6 separate regions of the Homo sapiens genome follow, and all the other regions are linked to region 4. Evidence: promoter capture Hi-C in 16 types of primary human blood cells and fetal thymus (Javierre and others, 2016). All regions are on one chromosome and are shown on one strand. The core of a region is centred on a gene start or on the middle of the fragment in contact, and the rest is flanking DNA. Distances in the headings are between cores, read along the strand shown.

Evidence for each region. The method cuts DNA at HindIII sites, captures the fragments that hold promoters and counts their contacts. A CHiCAGO score of 5 or more calls a contact.
Region 1: a fragment that was not itself captured here is called in contact with the fragment with the promoter of SHISAL2A in region 4 in 1 of 17 cell types (naive CD8 T cells); the score reaches 5.4 in naive CD8 T cells.
Region 2: a contact is called between a fragment that was not itself captured here and the fragment with the promoter of SHISAL2A in region 4, in 1 of 17 cell types (total B cells). The highest score is 5.1, in total B cells.
Region 3: a fragment that was not itself captured here is called in contact with the fragment with the promoter of SHISAL2A in region 4 in 1 of 17 cell types (naive CD4 T cells); the score reaches 6.3 in naive CD4 T cells.
Region 5: a contact is called between a fragment that was not itself captured here and the fragment with the promoter of SHISAL2A in region 4, in 5 of 17 cell types (total CD4 T cells, naive B cells, naive CD8 T cells and 2 more). The highest score is 7.3, in total CD4 T cells.
Region 6: a contact is called between a fragment that was not itself captured here and the fragment with the promoter of SHISAL2A in region 4, in 2 of 17 cell types (naive B cells and total CD8 T cells). The highest score is 5.5, in naive B cells.

Annotation. Positions count from the first base shown.
Region 1 is chr1:52,397,528-52,400,457 of GRCh38, forward strand. It overlaps ORC1 (origin recognition complex subunit 1), which reads right to left. Exons shown (of 17, transcript NM_004153.4): 4 at 158-336. Among named protein-coding and RNA genes, the nearest start is that of ORC1, 5.4 kb to the right of the region's middle. The HindIII fragment of the contact is 2,742 bases long and covers 120-2,861 here.
Region 2 is chr1:52,465,285-52,468,365 of GRCh38, forward strand. It overlaps TUT4 (terminal uridylyl transferase 4), which reads right to left. Exons shown (of 30, transcript NM_001009881.3): 15 at 2,897-2,983. Among named protein-coding and RNA genes, the nearest start is that of PRPF38A, 62 kb to the left of the region's middle. The HindIII fragment of the contact is 2,688 bases long and covers 53-2,740 here.
Region 3 is chr1:52,418,314-52,421,242 of GRCh38, forward strand. It overlaps PRPF38A (pre-mRNA processing factor 38A), which reads left to right. Exons shown (of 10, transcript NM_032864.4): 10 at 1-2,523. Among named protein-coding and RNA genes, the nearest start is that of PRPF38A, 15 kb to the left of the region's middle. The HindIII fragment of the contact is 1,868 bases long and covers 675-2,542 here.
Region 4 is chr1:52,631,807-52,634,702 of GRCh38, forward strand. It overlaps SHISAL2A (shisa like 2A), which reads left to right and starts at 1,362. Exons shown (of 3, transcript NM_001042693.3): 1 at 1,362-1,869. The coding sequence starts at 1,688. LOC124904178 (a long non-coding RNA gene) reads right to left here and starts at 1,649. Exons shown (of 2, transcript XR_007066084.1): 1 at 1,502-1,649. RefSeq lists silencers at 1,240-1,349, 1,440-1,629, 1,640-1,689. The HindIII fragment of the contact is 18,193 bases long and covers 1-2,896 here.
Region 5 is chr1:52,446,478-52,449,416 of GRCh38, forward strand. TUT4 (terminal uridylyl transferase 4) reads right to left here. Exons shown (of 30, transcript NM_001009881.3): 21 at 113-190. Among named protein-coding and RNA genes, the nearest start is that of PRPF38A, 43 kb to the left of the region's middle. The HindIII fragment of the contact is 679 bases long and covers 1,025-1,703 here.
Region 6 is chr1:52,486,509-52,489,208 of GRCh38, forward strand. It overlaps TUT4 (terminal uridylyl transferase 4), which reads right to left. Exons shown (of 30, transcript NM_001009881.3): 9 at 2,401-2,527. Among named protein-coding and RNA genes, the nearest start is that of TUT4, 65 kb to the right of the region's middle. The HindIII fragment of the contact is 3,142 bases long and covers 1-2,700 here.

The DNA of each region.
Region 1 (2,930 bases), core at 241-2,740, 230 kb before region 4:
CTGTTGAGATGAAACAGACAGGCAAGCACAGAAGATGACAGGAAATAATGCATTCCCTATGGGGTATTAGAGCCGGTAATATTTCTGGGGTCATGAAGTTCAGGAGGCAGACAGAAATAAGCTTCAAGGTAGAACCAAGGATGGTGGCATCACCTACCCGAACAAGGCCAATGATGGTCTCCGCATTAATGTTGCTGTCACAGGCCGGGTAATCATACCAGAATATTTCCTGTGCACCAGGCTTCCGGCCCAACAAATGCCGTTTACAGGCAGGGACTTCACAGAATCGGACAAACCACTGTACTCGAGCACGTTTCTTAGGAGGAGGATCAGAGTCTAGAAAGAATTTGGTGGAAAGGGAAAGGTTAAGACAACTCAAGGACACTTTACTGAGCAATTCCTATGTGCCAGACACTGTGCTTAACCCTTGACATGTGTGGTTTTGTTTTTTGTTTTTTGAGACAGAGTCTCTGTCACCCAGGCTGGAGTGCAGTGGCCCCATCTTGGCTCACTGCAACCTCTGCCTCCTGGGTTAAAGTGATTCTGCTGCCTCAGCCTCCTGAGTAGCTGAGATTACAGGCACCTGCCATCCTACCTGGCTAATTTTTGTATTTTCAGTAGAAACGAGGTCTCACCACGTTGGCCAGGCTGGTCTCAAACTCGTGACCTCACGTGATCTGCCTACCTTGGCCTCCCAAAGTGCTGGAATTACAGGCATGAGCCACCACCTCCCGCCAAAATTTTTTTTTTTTTTGTGACGGAGTCTTGCTCTGTCCCCCAGGCTGGAGTGCAGTGGCGTGATCTCGGCTCACTGCAACCTCTGCCTCCCTGGTTCAGGAGATTCTCCTGGCTCAACCTCCCGAGTAGCTGGGACCACAGGCCTGTGCCACCACGCCTGGCTAATTTTTATATTTTTAGTAGAGATAGGGTTTCACCATGTTGGCCAGGCTGGTCTCAAACTCTTGACCTCAAGTGATCCGCCCGCCTTGGCCTCTCAAAGTGCTGGGATTACAGGCATGAGCCACCATGCCTGGCCCAACATGTGTTATCTTTTATTTTATTTTATTTTTTTGAGACGGAGTCTCACTCTGTCACCTGGACTGGAGTGCAGTGGTTTGATCTTGGCTCACTGCAAGCTCCGCCTCCCAGGTTCACACCATTCTCCTGCCTCAGCCTCCCAATTAGCTGGGATTACAGGCGCCCGCCATCACGCCCAGCTAATTATTTTTTTGTATTTTTAGTAGAGACGGGGTTTCACCGTGTTAGCCAGGACGGTCTCAATCTCCTGACCTCGTGATCCGCCTGCCTCGGCCTACCAAAGTGCTGGGATTACAGGCATGAGCCACCACACCTGGCCGATCCTTAATCCTTCTAATAACCCTACAAGGTAGGTACTACAGCTATCCCCCTTTTCAGGCAAAGAAATCAAGTGACGGGGGACCTTAAAGAGTTTGTCAAAGGTCACATGACCAACTGCAGCAATCTAATTCCAGCCCACACACCCGCTCTTCTGGGATTGCTCCATTTCCTAATGGTGCTATCAGCCGGCAAAGGAATGACAAAAAGGCCTCTGAGAGGAGCTACTCTAAACACAGGCAACGAACAAATAAAAATCAGTGACTATAAAGACAGCATCAAACAGCAGCAAAACAAAAATCCTAGCAAGAATTATAGCATCAGGCTGGGTGCAGTGGCTCACGTCTGTAATCACAGTACTCTGGGAGGCCAAGGCAGGCGGATCACTTGAGGTCAGGAGTTGGAGACCAGCCTGCCCAACATGGTGAGACCTCATCTCTGCTAAAAATACAAAAAATTGTCCAGGTGCGGCGGCTCACGCCTGTAATCCCAGCACTTTGGGAGGCTGAGGCGGGCGGATCATGAGGTCAGGAGCTCAAGACCATCCTGGCTAACACGGTGAAACCCCGTCTCTACTAAAAATACAAAAAATTAGCTGGGCATGGTGGCGGGTGCCTGTAGTCTCAGCTACTCGGGAGGCTGAGGCAAGAGAATGGCTTGAACCCGGGAGGCAGAGCTTGCAGTGAGCCGAGATGGCGCCACTGCACTCCAGACTGGGCGACACAGCGAGACTCTGTCTCAAAAAAAAAAAAAAAAAAAAGAAAGAAAAAGAAAATTAGCTGGGCATGGTGGCAGGTGCCTGTCATCCCAGCTACTTGGGAGGCTGAGGCAGGAGAACTGCTTGAACCCAGGAGGTTGAGGCTGCATGAGCTGAGATTGTGCCACTGCACTCCAGTCTGGGTGACACAGCAAGATTCTGTCACTGTCACACACACACACACACACACACACACACAAGAATTACAGCATCAACCACTGAGATGACTTCTGGCAAATGCTTGCAATCTTCAGCTTTATTATTACAGCATACGATTAGTATCACTCCGTACCAGCAATAGCTCCAACCGAAAGAACACTCATTAGTGCCTCATCATCATCCTCTCTTCCCTGCTTAGCTTTCTTCAGAGAAAGACTAAAGTCATCCAATGGAGCACCAAGAGAGGATTCTAGAATCTATACACCGAAGCCCATGATTCTGATGTGCTGCCTCTACTGGACATTAGTTTGATGAGGTTTTTCTCCATACTTCTAAGTATGTCAAAGAGAAAGTATGTCCAAAATCCTCCTTATCTATGTGCAGTACTCTCCCCTTATCTGCTGAGGGTACGCGCCAAGACCAGTAGATGCTTGAACCTGCAGATGCTGCCACTAACCCTGTATATGCTATGATTTTTCCTACACACACATACTGTACAGCACGGATACACTGGACAAAGGGATGACTCACATTTCAGGTGGGACAGCGTGAGATTTCACCACATTACTCACAATGGCACACAATTTAAAGCTTATGACTTGTTTTTTTCTGTAATTTTCCATTTAATATTTTTGGACTATGGTTGTTGTCAGGTAAC
Region 2 (3,081 bases), core at 147-2,646, 170 kb before region 4:
ATTACCTACCACTGGAAGAAATACTGAGAAATTCCAAAACATCTTGAGCCCAAGCTTTTGCCCAAGTTCCCATACCCATGTACCCAACTGCTTTTTCCAATTTTCCACAGACATCATACATTCAACACGTCTGAACTATCAACTTTGCCCCAAATCTATTACTATTTCTATTATCCCTGTTCTTAGCAAATAGTACCATCATGTACACAGATGCCCACATCAGAAATACAGGTGCAATCCTTAATATCTGTCTCTCAATGTCCACATCCAAACAATCATTGAGACTTTTAGCTTTTTCCGACTTACATAATAAATCCATCTGCTTTTATACATTCTCAACATCACTACCAATAGTTAAGATCAATATTTGAGGACTGCCCTCTTAAAAATAAATTAGTTCTTTCAAAGCACAATTCATGTAGGTTTACAAATATCACCTTAGTATACGATGCTCTTCCAAAAATGAGTGATTATAGTCCACTTGATATAAATTATGATAGGGTTAACCCTTCAGACTCAGTGTCATCCAATAACAGCTACCATTTCAAATAAGCTGTGGTTTAACAGAATTGGATTTTTCTTCCTATTACTTTTTTTTTTTTAGAGACAGGGTCTTGCTATATTGCCCAGGCTAGAGTGCACTGGCTATTCACAGGCACAATCATTATACACTACAGTCTTGAACTCCTTGCCTCAAGCAATACTCCCACCTCAACCTCCCAAGTGGCTGAGATAACAGGTGTGTGCCACTGGGCCTGGCTCTTCCTATTAATTCTAAAGTAGACTACACATTTATAGGACACTTTATACTTTCAAAACTTCATACCCCCATCCAGTTCTGATGCTCTACTTGAAATTTCAATGATAGCTGAGAGGCAAAAAAGAAGCTATACTCATCAGCAAATAAAACTGAGCATGATTTTATATAATAGAGACTTAGATTTGGTCAATACTTTATATACTCCTATAATCCCAGCGCTTCAGGAAGCCAACCAATGTGGGAGGATCGTTTGAGACCAGGCTGGGCAACATGGTGAGACTTTGTCTTTACAAAAATTTTTTAAGATAAAAAAGAAGGCGAGGTGCGGTGGCTCATGCCTGTAATCCTAGAATTCTGGGAAGCTGAGGTGGGTGGATCACTTGAGTTCAGGAGTTTGAGACCTGCTTGGAAAACATGGTGAGACTCCATCTCTACAAAAAATAATGTGCTGGGTGTGGTGGCGCGCACCTGTGGTCCCAGCTACTCAGGAGACTAAGGTAGGAGGATCGCTTGAGCCTCAGAGGTCAAGGCTGAAGTGAACCCTGATCACATGATTGCACCACTGCAGTTGAGCCCGGGTGACAGAGTAATATCCTATTTCAAAAAAAAAAAAAAATATATATATATATATATATATATTTTTGAGACAGAGTTTCGCTCTTGTCGCCCAGGCTGGAGTGCAAAGGCATGACCTTGGCTCACTGCAACCTCTGCCTCCCAGGTTCAAGTGATTCTCCTGCCTCAGCCTGAGTAGCTGGGACTACAGGCGTGTGCCACCACACCCAGCAAATTCTTGTACTTTTAGTAGAGACGGGTTTTGCCATATTGGCCAGACTCGTCTCGAACTCCTGACCTCAGGTGATCCACCTTCCTCAGCCTCCCAAAGTGCTGGGATTATAGGTGTAAGCCACCGCACCTGGCCAAAAAAAATATTTCTTAATAAAAAATAAATTAGCTAAGCATGGTGGCACACACCTGTAGTCCTAACGACTTGGGAGGCTAAGGCAGGAGGATTGCTTGAGCCCGGAAGTTTGAGGCTGCAGTGAGCTATGATCATGCCACTGCACTCCAGTCTGGGCAACAGAGTGAGAACCTGTCTCTAAAAAACAATAATGATGATATGATTTTTTAATTTAAAAAATATTTGTTTTCAAATACTTTTAATTGTAATATGTAGCACATAATGGGTCATCTTGTAAAAGTACAAATTCATTCTGATTAAAGTCAACTTTTATCCTTTTCTAAAATATTTAGTCACAAAAATCTTGATTCTTCATCCCCATGCCCAAAACTTACTCTTCCTGCTCTTTGCCATCTCAGTTATATAGGACCACCTACTGTAACTGTTATAGCAAAAACCTTGAAACCATCCTTGATTTCTTTCTTTCTCTCATGCCTCACATTTTCCATCAGCAAATCCTATTGGTTCTACCTTCAAAATATATCCCAAATCTGACCACTTCTCATCTACTCTGGACTCACACAACAGCCTCCTAAATGTTCTGCTTGCTTCCAGTCTTATAGCCCAGCAAACCATTCACTCAGATCATGTCATTTATTAACTAAAAATCCTCTAAAAGATTCTCATTAGGTACTCAAAATAAAATTCAAAGGCTTTCTACCAACATCCATAAGGCACTAATGACTTAATCCCTAGACCCCCTCTCTGACCTCTTCTATACATTACAATCTACCTCTAATACTCCACTCCAGCCACACTGACTTCCTGGCTATTCCTCAAATATGCCAAACATAATCTATTCTTGTTCCATCAACAATGTTTTCTCCTTGGATATTTATATAACTTGCTCCTTCATGTTATTCAGGATTCTCCTCAAATGCTACCTTATGAGAGAGGCCTATCATAACACTCCATCACTTCAGTTCTTTTATCTCCTATACTTTTAACAGCATGTATTATTTGCTGATATAATATTATATATTTATTAGTCAACTATTTGTCTCCCCATTTGAAACATAAGCTTCATGAGGTTTCATCTCTTTTATTAGCACTGTATTCCCAGCAACTAGAACAGTACTTAACACATAGCATTCAATAAATATTTTTAAATAAATGAAACTCAAGACTACATGACTACAGCAAAAACGCAATAAATTTTTTAACCTATGACATACCATCATATTCTTTTTGAATAAACTTTTCCAAGCCAATTAAAATTTGCTCCCTGTTGTGTTGTTCAGAACAAGGTGGTGATAACTCATCTGGGTTTATAAAAAGAAGAAAAAAGGAAAAAGAAAAGTAAGGAAAACAGAATCTGAAAACATCTTCAAGTTTTTACCCTAAAAATTTTACTTACAGT
Region 3 (2,929 bases), core at 359-2,858, 210 kb before region 4:
AAATGTATTACAGTGTCATAGCAGTTATTTCTTTATGAAAGTGATCTAGGTAGAAAGAAATGTCTTCTGGCATGGACAGAAATGACCCATGGACCAACCAAGCTGTCATCCAGTACACTCTTAAAATAAAACTTTGTCTTAAAATATGTTTTAAAGTAAAAATAAACCCACGCACAAAGCCCAATAAATTTTAGTAACAGAAATAAACCTCCCTAAACAAACATTAAAACATACTTGTTTAGACATATGGTAATATGTGGACCAAAATTGAGGTACCACAGCCAATCAATAGCAGGAAAGAGAATGTCCCTATTCTTTAATTAGAAGAAGGAGGTAAGAGTAAGACATGTTGCATGTCTGTAGATATCGTTTTGATAAAATTACACAGGAGATGGAGCTTGAGGACAAACCTTGCTGTAAGGCTCTTTCTGTCATCTATGTGCTTGCCTATGGATGAAGCATTTTAAACTTTTTGACTACAGCATACATTTTAAAAACGTATTTTACATCTTACCTCTGTACACATCTGTATTCTGTACTGAGACAAATTTCAGGAAAGAATACTTACTATGCAAAGTGAATTCTGGTGTTTCCTACTTGTTAACAGTTTTTAATATTGGATGAAACCACTTAATCGATTTCACTTCCAATAATTTGAAATACACTGACTTAAAAGCTTTGCCATAGGGCACAATCGCCTTTTAATACTAAGAAAGTAAGGGAGATGTGTTCCAAGGGGCAAAAGAAATAATGCATTTTTGGCCAGGTGCGGTGGCTCACGCCTGTAATCCCAGCACTTTGGGAGGCCGAGGCGGGCAGATCACCTGAGGTCGGGAGTTTGAGACCAGCCTGGCCAACATGGAGAAACCCTGTCTCTACTAAAAAATACAAAATTAGCCGGGCATGGTGGCGCATGCCTGTAATCCCAGTTACTTGGGAGGCTGAGGCAGGAGAATCGCTTGAACCTGGGAGGCAGAGGATGCGGTGAGCTGAGATCGTGCCACTGCACTTCAGCCTGGGCAAAAAGAGCGAAACTCCATCTCAAAAAAAAAAAAAAAAGAAGAAGAAGAATGGGTTTGGTGAGAGGGTTCCAATATTAACAACCCAACTTCAAGCTCATTCCTCTAACCTCTTCCTGTTTGTTATTCTTCAGTAGACCGAAGTTTAAATAAGCATTATTTAGAAAAGAACGATCACAGATTGCCCACTCCCTCAAAAAGGTTAATGTGACAGAAATTCTCCACCTGCTCAAAAAAGACAGCAGACATGATCTCTTTAAAAAAAAAAAGTTCAAAAGAGATTAAGAGATGAAAAATAAGATTGGTGGAGTTTAAAGGCCTTATACTAGAAACCACAAAACATAAAACAGCACAGAGAAAATAGGCTGGAGGAAATAAAAAATGGAAAAGAGAAATATGTAGAATAAAGAAATATTCTGATGGTTTAAAAAGAATTGGCCGGGTGCGGTGGCTCACGCCTGTAATCCCAGCACTTTGGGAGGCCGAGGCAGACGGATCATGAGGTCAGGAGATCGAGACCATCCAGGCTAACACAGTGAAACCCGTCTCTACTAAAAATACAAAAAATTAGCTGGGTGTGCTGGCGGGTAGAGCTACTAGGGAGGCTGAGGCAGGAGAATGGCGTGAATCCGGGAGGCGGAGCTTTCAGTGAGCCGAGATCGCGCCATTGCACTCCAGCCTGGGCAACAGAGTGAGACTCCGTCTCAAAAAGAAAAAAGAATTAAATGGGGTCAGGATGGTCTCAGATCTTATAACAAGAAGGCAATGAAGCAAAAGGCTCCAAAGGTTTGAGAAAAAGTGCCAGGAATTTTATACTTTGCCAAAGTTGTCTTAAAATACAAAGGCTATAGATGTTCTCAAGTTTGTAAGAACTTAAAAGTACAAATCATGAGTCTTTGGGAAAAAACCGCCCAATAATGAAATTCAACTAAAGAAGAAATGAATCAAATTAAGGACTTAGGAACAAAGAATCAGTAAAAGGAGTGTTAGTAAACACTTCAGAAACTTTAAAAATAATGGGCAATGATTATAAAGTCAAATATTATGAACACTGTCTATATAGAAATAACAAGTAGAGTGTGCTGGTTTCATCTTTCATAGCAGGAATCACGTACAGTCTCTAATTAAAACATACATGAAGCTAGAAAAAAAAATAGCCTCTTTATTGTTTTCCGTAATTGTCCTTAATTTTAGGAGAAATCTTACAAGACTAGATTCTCTTGTGGGGAAAAAAGTATTTAAATTGAGCATTTTTTCAGTTTCACACTTGTTTTCCTTTTGTTAATTTGCTATATTTGTTAAATATAGCATATGAGCCCACTTTTGTAAAACTATTTGTATATATGTGCCTGTATGATTAAGAGAGATGGTTGGAATGAATGAAGTTCACCAGATAGTACTTCTTTCTGGCTGATGAACTTTTGAATGATTTTTAAACTTTGTACTTTTATATAATGCTTATTTTCTTTTTACAATAAACATGTTAATTTCTACAAGGAAGAAATGAGTTGTTGGGAGTTAAAAGCTTTTTTATAAGCATACCAACACATTTTACGTATTGTTTGCTGGAACTACAGATTGATAACCACTTTTATGAAGGGCAATTTGGCAATATGTAGCAGGAACCTTAGGACTTTTGATCCTTTTACCCAGTAATCCCATTTAGGGGAATTTACCCTAATAGAATAATTACATGTACACACAAATAGCTTTATCCCATCATCATTTTACACATTACATATATAATATGTATATATAAGAATAACTGGAAACAGCAAAAATGTCCATCTGTAGGGGATATAAACAAATATACAGTACATATTTATATTTTTAATAACCCTAATGTCAAGGGAAAATACTAATCTCCATGTCATTAAACAGAACATTTCAAAACAATTTGGTCTTAAATG
Region 4 (2,896 bases), core at 112-2,611:
AGGATTCCTCCCCTGTACTCTCCATCTGATAAAGAGGCTGAAGTGCACCCTCATTAGTGTAGGCTCTCCAGCTCCCAGTCTGCTCAGACCCACAGCTCAGGGGAGGAATGTTCTGGAGGATAATAACAGTTCCCTCCAGCTTTCATATTTGACCTTACAGTGACTCTTGAGGACACCGCCTCCCTCAGAGCCCTCCCCTGCTTCCTCAGATGGTGCCCCTCTGTGTCCAGGTCCTTGCATTTCCCTTTTTACTGCCCTGTGCTGTGATCGTCAGTCAGTCTGACTCCTCCATCAGACTGTGTGTTTCTCAACGGCAGGCCCAGATCTGATCCCTCTCAGGGGCCCTAGGGCCCACCCAGGTCAGGGCAGCGGCACAATCAGCATCTGAGGAGCTGGCCTGGGTGAGGACAAGGAACCCAAAGCTCAGAGAGAAACAGCAGGGAAGGGGTAGAGCTGGGCTGGAGCCCAGATCCCCTGATACCCACGGCCCGTTCCCCACACGTCCAAACCAAGGGCGAAGGAATCGGGGGTGCCCGAGGCACCACAGTAACTATTTCCTACCCTACCCACTGCTGTGAAAAATGTAGAGCTAAGGCACTGAAGGTGCTGTATGAAGCCCTTCCAGATGGCGTAAGGCAACAGGGTACATGGGGGAAGCCAAGGCACTGAGAGCCCCTTCAGACTGTGGTTCTCTGATGCTAGTGAGAACACTGCCCTTGTTCTCTGGAAGTAATTTTTCAAAATGGACAGGTCTGCTGACTTTCTTTGCTGGTCAGTGTGGGGAAGGAGGTTACCGTCTGGGCCCATCCACACCCATATTCGGCTCCTTGTCCCAGGCCAGTGGCAGGCAGTATGAACAGAAGAGTGTGGACATTGTCCGTGCACGAGCTAGCTCTCAGCGAGACTAGCAGGGACTCCAGATGATGAGGACATCTAAAAGCCCGCTAGAAAAGAGGCACCATGAAAGCCGCAGAAAGAGCAAGGACTTCCTACTAGGCCGCCCCCGGTTAAAATCTCGTGGGCTTAGGAACTCCGGGAAATGGCTTCTCTCTGGCCCTCAGCTCTCACCTTTAACACGGATGCGAACATCCCCGGGCCCCTGGGTTTTTGCGGAGGTTGGGTGAGGTTGTGTTCACTCTCCTCACTGACCCCGCCGTGTGGTCGCCGGCTGGTGCCTTGTCTGTCTGCCCCAGCCCCGAATGCCCCGAGACTCCCGGCGCCGGCTCGGTGCAGGTAAGGCGCCCGCGCCCTGGCCTCGAATTCCCGCCCCGCCACTCTGGCCGCGTCGTGCTGTCGTTGCGCACCCAGCGCCCTCGTGCAGGCAGGGGGAGCGCAGTGGGGAGGGGGCAGGAAGCGCAGGCAGAGCCAGGCGAGCACGCGGCTCCCGGCCCAGCTCCCCGCGTCCGCTCCGGCTCCTGCCGCGTTCCAGCAGCCGTCACTCCCGCCGCCGGCCCCCGCCGCCCGCCCCGCCTGCCCCTACCCCTCCGCGCGGGCCGGGCACCTGGCCGCCGCTCGGTCCTCGGGGCCCCGCGCTGCTGTCTCTGTCTCGGCTTCTCTCGGCCCCTGGGTCTCTTCGTCTCTGCCGTTCTCAGGCTCAGCTCCGTCTCGCTCGGTCCCTCGCTTCCCCGCCGGGCTCTAGCCGGCCGTCTGGTGGCCCGAGGTGGCGGCGGGCTGGGCGCGGGGCGCGATGAGCGGCGCCTGCACGAGCTACGTGAGCGCAGAGCAGGAGGTGGTGCGCGGCTTCAGCTGCCCGCGGCCGGGGGGCGAGGCGGCCGCTGTCTTCTGCTGCGGCTTCCGCGACCACAAGTACTGCTGCGACGACCCGCACAGCTTCTTCCCCTACGAGCACAGCTACATGTGGTGGCTCAGGTACCGTCCCTGGCCCTCACCCTACCTTGAACCCCACTCCAGTCTCAGCGCCTTCACCCCAGCCTCAGCCCCCACCCGAGTGTCCACCTGAACATCAGCAGCAAGCTCTAGTCCTTACCGTCCTCATGCCCACAGCATCAACCACCCCGTGAAACCCCATCTCAGCTCGATTTCCTCATCCTGACCCCAACCATTATTTAGAGCCATGCTCGGACCTCCCCCTCCTCTAATCCAAAACAATCCTCACTCTATCCCCACCCCAAACTTCATTCCATCACCACCCTCATCCCAACCCCAAATCACATATCAAGCCTCCCCCTAACAGCAACTTCCATCTTCAAACATTCACAGGCAGCCCAACTCCACCCCAATCATCATCCCACCAAGGTGCCCTTCCTAATATCAACACCAGCCTTATTCCTGACTTTCCACACTCCCCAGTACTGACCCCAGACCTTATTCTATCACCAGCCCCAACCTCCTCTTCTGTCCTGCCTGCAGTCCCACCTCAGCTCTTCTCCCACATCCTGACTCCAAATATTATTAATATCTAGATCTACATCCAAACCTCAACCTCCAGACTTAACCCTCGCCTGGTGCTACACCCCAACCCCAGCCTCAGCCCAGCGTCAACCCTTGGTTCCCTTTTGTATTTAGTCATTCTTTCGGGCACTCTCTACTGAGCACTTGGTGTGTGCCAAGCCCTGTGGTGAGTGCTGGGGATGTACCCCATCCTCAAGCTAAGGCAGAAGACTCGGGAGTCAGAGCTGCCTCCAAGTTCATCATGAGACAATGGCATAGTGCAGAAGCTAGCTCAGGCCATATTCATAGAAGTGTTGACTCTCCACCCATAGGACCTCAGTTTCCCCATTTGTTCAGGGAAGAGGTTGCATTCCTGGAGCCTAAGTGTTGGCTTGAGAGGGTAATAGGTCTCAATCCCCCTGGGTCTCCAAAGGCCTTACCTGGAGAATGGAACTTGATCCTCAGCCTACTTTGGGAAACAGGCATCAGCAAAAATTGAGTGGGC
Region 5 (2,939 bases), core at 114-2,613, 190 kb before region 4:
ATACAGTACTATCCAAAACATGGACAGCAAATTTAAGTAAAATTATTAAATTATACAGATGCTAACATATATCAGTGAGCATTCTAGAACATAAAGACTATTTTAAAATTACCAGTTCTTCTGTTTTATCAAAGAAGAAAGCATTCCATCCATCAACCATTCTCTGTGGAATCTGTTTTCCATCAAAGATCTGCATAAAAAAATTAATTGTATTATTAGATTTCAAGTGATCCAACCCAAAGGTCCAAATACTCTAATACCATTTTAGAATTTACCTATAAGACATACTAAAATACTTCTTCCAAAAAGAACATGTCAGGATGATGGTATAATTTGATGCCAAGAAGTTAATGAATAAAACGTATCTGAAAGACCAAAGCTGGAAAAGGATGTCTTTTAAGAGCATTAAACTCCAAATGATACATTTGATGTTATCTACTTGACCTATCAAAACATATCCAGTCCAAGAATAATGAAGCAAAACTTAAAAAAGAAACAGCAGTCATGATGAAACAGCAGTTTCATCAAAGGATCACAGATATAAAAATACAAAATAGATAATACCCACTGATTGTGCACCCAAAGGAAGGCAACAGAACTGTTTTGGGACCTAGTACCTTTAATCATTTATCTATATCAGATAAGGCTAAAAAGCAATTGGACTATCATTTTGTAAAAATGGAAAATTAGGGCCAGGCACGGTGGTTCACGCCTGTAATCCCAGCACTTTGGGAGGCCGAGAATGGTGGATCATGAGGTCAGGAGTTTGAGACCAGCCTGGCCAACATGGTGAAACCCAGTGTCTACTAAAGATACAAAAAATTAGCTGGGCGTGGTGGCGTGCACCTGTAATCCCATCTACTCGGGAGGCTGAGGCAGGAGAAATGCTTGAACCTGGAAAGCAGAGGTTGCAGTCAGCCGAGATCGTGCCACTGCACTCCAGCCTGGGCGACAGGGCGAGACTCCATCTCACCAAAAAAAAACAAAAAAACAAAAAAACAAAAAAAAAAAAGGAAAATTAGGAAGCTTTCCCTTACATTTTGATAAAGACTATAAACTTTATTATGAATAATAATCCGCTGTCCTAAGGAGAAGAAAAAAGGAGAAAAAAACGCTATTTTTACAAGAAAAGTATCCCGTAAGATGTCTGTGTAACTGACTTCCACAAGTAATTGATACTTTTATTCTAAAGGAGGCTTAAGAGATGCAATAAAGTAGGAAGGTGCAACAGATTCAGTCAGGAGACCTAATTTCTAGCCTCTATCCTGAGGAATAGTGGTTCTGGGCAAGACAATCATCTCCCTAAGTGCTCACTTTTCCCAGTGAAAATGAGGAAAGACTATATAAATTAGTCAGTCAGTAGTTTATAAATGGAGAAAACATACCACACCACCTTCTCTTTACCCTCTACCGTGACTAATGGGTCCCAGAATACAGTTAAACCACAATACCATTTAAATCCACTAGTTAAGGTGGGCCTGGGCCCAATGGCCATTTCCATTTTTGATGTGACAGTGATTTATAAAATTAACTACATGTCTGGCCCCTCCAATTTTATCCTCAGATTTAAGTTCTTTGTGGGTAAGGACTATGGCTTATCTCTGAAACCCAGAACCCTACTAGACCAAAGCCACATAGAGAACACTTAATATATGTTTGTTGAATGACTATATTTAATATGTAAGTATGTTACACAGAAATCAAGCTTCCAGGGACTAGGGCTAATAAGTTGCTTTTTAACATTTACATATTACTTAAACAGATACAGTTTACTAAAAGTCATCTAGCACATATTCCGACATTTCATAAAACAAAAGTGAAAGACTGAGGCCGGGCGCAGTGGCTCATGCCTGTAATCCCAGCACTTTGGGAGGCCGAGGCAGGCGGATCACCTGAGGTCAGGAGTTCAAGACCAGCCTGGCCAACATGGCAAAACCCCGTCTCTAATAAAAATACAAAAAATTGGCTGGGCGTGGTGGTTCGTGCTGGTAGTCCCAGCTACTTGGGAGGCGGAGGCAGGAGAATCGCTTGAACTCAGGAGATTGAGGTTGCAATGAGCTGAGATTGTGCCACTACACTCCAGACTGGGTGACTAAGCGAGATTCTGTCTCAAAAAAAAAAAAAAAAAAAAAAAAAGAGGCAATTGCAGCTATTAATATCTGAAACAAAAGACATAGGATTTCTGACCTCAAGAAAGAAGTGAAGATATTAAGGGGCTGACATGTAATATTTTATCCTTAAAGATTCAGACGCTATTATAGGTATTTCATGTTTTGTAAACACAGATTTATTTGCTAGATATTGAAATAAACTACCTCTTTAGAACCCTGTTTTGAGATAATTCATACTTCTGAGTAACAACAATCCAACTCTTTAGATCATGATTGTTTTTAAGAGATTTCATACTTCTCAGTAATATCCATGATCCAGCCCAACTACGTTGGCTGATAACACAGTGGAGTAGGTCTGTGGGCCTTGTAACGTTAATCATCACTCATTTTGCCTATTCTTTTGAATTCTCATGTTTCACTGTGTTTAATTCTCTCCACTCTGTTTCAGCCCCCAGAAGCACTAATGCTATACACTTTTACACACACACACACACAGACACACACACACACACTCTCTCTCCCTGCTGTCTCTCTGTTCTCTCTCATTCAACACGAATCATCTTCAACTTAGCACTCAGTCCTCCCTCTAAACAAGTCAATCATATTATAAGGATCACCAAATAAGTCAATCATATTTATGTAAAGAATGACCCTAAACATTTCCAAAATTCTTATCTTATTGTGATATTCTAATATGTACTGTTATATTTACATTGCATTTTTCTGTTTAGACAGAGTCTCGCTCTGTCACCCAGGCTGGAGTGCAGTGGCACAATCTCAGCTCACTGCAACCTCCACCTCGCCAGTTCAAGCCATTCTTGTGCCTCA
Region 6 (2,700 bases), core at 171-2,670, 150 kb before region 4:
TGCGTGCTTAACTAGATAATGTACAATATGGCTTAAAACTTCAAGAAAAACAAAGCTATTTTAAAAAAATCTTTTAGAAGAAAAATAAACTAGGAATTATTTCTAAGTTTCTTAAGAAAATGAATACCATGAAAAAACTTTCTTTGCAACTAACACAAATGACAAAAACGAGACATGTTATTCTGTTGGAAACAGAAAGAAACCATTCTACAACCAGTTTTGTAATATATGTTTCAGTGTCCATTGACTGGCATATTTAGAATCTACATGGATCAACTACTAAAACACCATGAGCAACCTTTTCCAAGAGTCACTTTAGGAAACAATATTTATGGGCCATATTTTTTTCCAAAATAAAAAGAATGTATCTGAGTATCATTTATAATCTTCTAACACAGACTACTTATTTTACTGAGTAGAACAATGTCTGGGAGAAAACTGACATGACTTTATGACCACAAAAAAAATTAGGGCATAATTTAAAAGTACCAACAAAGAAGCAACTGTGTATTCCATCATCCTTTATATTTCTGTAGTATTTTCGAGCCTGAAGTATATTCTCATGAATTATCTAATAGCATTACCAAAATATTCTCTCCAGGTGAAAAAAATTGAAGCTCAGATAGGTGAAGTACCTTGCTTGAAGACTTAGCAAAGCTGGGTGCTGTGGCTCACACCTGTAATCCCAGCACTTTGGGAGGCTAGGGTGGGAGGATCATTTGAGCCCTGTAGTTGAAGACCAGCCTGGGCAACAAAATGAGAACCCATCTCTACAAAAATAAAAAATAAAAAATTAGCCAGGCACGTTGGTACACGCCTGTGGTCCCAGGTACTCTGGAAGCCCGCGGCAGGAGGATCGCTTGAGCCTGGGAGGTCGAGGCTACTGTTAGCCGTGATCGCTCACTCCAGCACTAGGTGACAGAGACCTCATCTCAAAAAACAAAAAAAAACTTAGTAAAAAAAACCATACCTGGAATTGGTTTACTCCATTCCATACACTGATTTCCTATAGTATGCTAGGCATAGAGTATAAGATAAATGAGAGGAAGTAGTCACCCTCCCTCAACCTATTTTACTGCCTCCACTCTCTTCCATGGGTTAAAAATCTTTCTGGCCCAGGCACAGTGCCTCACACCCATAATTCCAGCACCTGGGAGGGCAAGGTGGGAGGACTGCTTGAGCCCAGAAGTTCAAGGCCAGCATGGGCAACATCATGAGACCCCATCTCTACTTAAACAAACAAACAAAAAAAAACACAACTCCTTTCTGAAGAAACTAGGTCATTTATTCAACAAATATTTACTGAGTGCCTACTATGTGCTGACACAGTAAAATAAGCGGAAGTGGGGATCAGCCGTGAATACATAAAACATTAAAATCCCTGCCCTCAAAGAGTTTACAATTTCACAGTACAGACTGCAACAAATTTATGTATGGCAGCTGGTAATCAATGTGAGCATAAACCTGAAAAAAGTAAGAGTGAAGCATTCTAAATACCTAAGGTAAGAACATTCTAGATGAAGGAAACAGCAAATACAAAGGCCTTGAGTATAAAGAAGCCCCAACCTTAGGCTTTCTGACTGTTTCGTACTCAGCCAGCTGGTGCTGCTCCAAGCATGGGGGCAATTCTCTAAACAGAGCCCAGACAAAAAATTCCAGAGACTTCTCTATTTTTGCTATGAAGTTACCACTCTAACACCATCCCCTTAACCAGTTTTCTTTGTATATGACTGAGAATTTACTCACCAGTCTAACAAGTGATGAATACTCTACCGATAGGGCAGGAATACACAAACAAAAGGCTAAAATCTCTCTCTCTAGTCATTTGGACTGATATTGATAATTAACTACTACTCCCTATCCCCACATCAAAGAAATAAACACAGGGCAACCACAGCCTTTAGACATACAAATTAAGACTAATTTAGGAAACTTAAATAACTAATGCTCAGCAGTTGCCCAATCAGAAATTGGTACATGTTATCAATGATTTAGAGGAAAGAGAATAGCATTCTTAGAGACTGGGGAAAAAAATATGCCAACAAAAGAATCTTAATGTATATACATCTTAAAACCTTACAAGTTTAACTTACAGTAAGAGTGAAAACTTGAGCCTCATATGCTGATATGAAAGAGAACATTTCTATAGTACATAAAAGGAGAATATAGCATGACAATTAAAAATTCTAAAATATATCCATAAGTGTGTCTACAAAAATTTATTTTTATGTCCATAAATTACAACCTGCCACACCAACTTTCTGTCTAGCACAGAAAACTACTTTCTCCCACATGTTATGATTGATGTTACATGTCAGTACAAGAAAAGGCCTAATTTTGAAGATTAAATACATTTCCTTCTAAAAATATAAATAAGTAGTTTTCCTCTCTTTCACTTACCTTAGCCCAGTAGCGAAAGGCTAACACCAAGGGAATAAAGACAGGTTCTATTTTGCCAAGGGCAGTAAGTAAATCAGTAGTGAGACATGCCATATCGTTTCCTGCACTCACTCTACAAAGTAAACCACTGTGAATGAGAAAGAAACAAATTTCATTGTATTAATACCCTTAAAAGCAGAATACTTCAAATCCTGTGGCTATTTTCTTTCTAGTTATCATATTGTAACATAGTACCGTAAAAGCCCTAATAAAAACAAATGTTTTAATAAATTTAGAGCTAACTGAAAACTACATGTCATT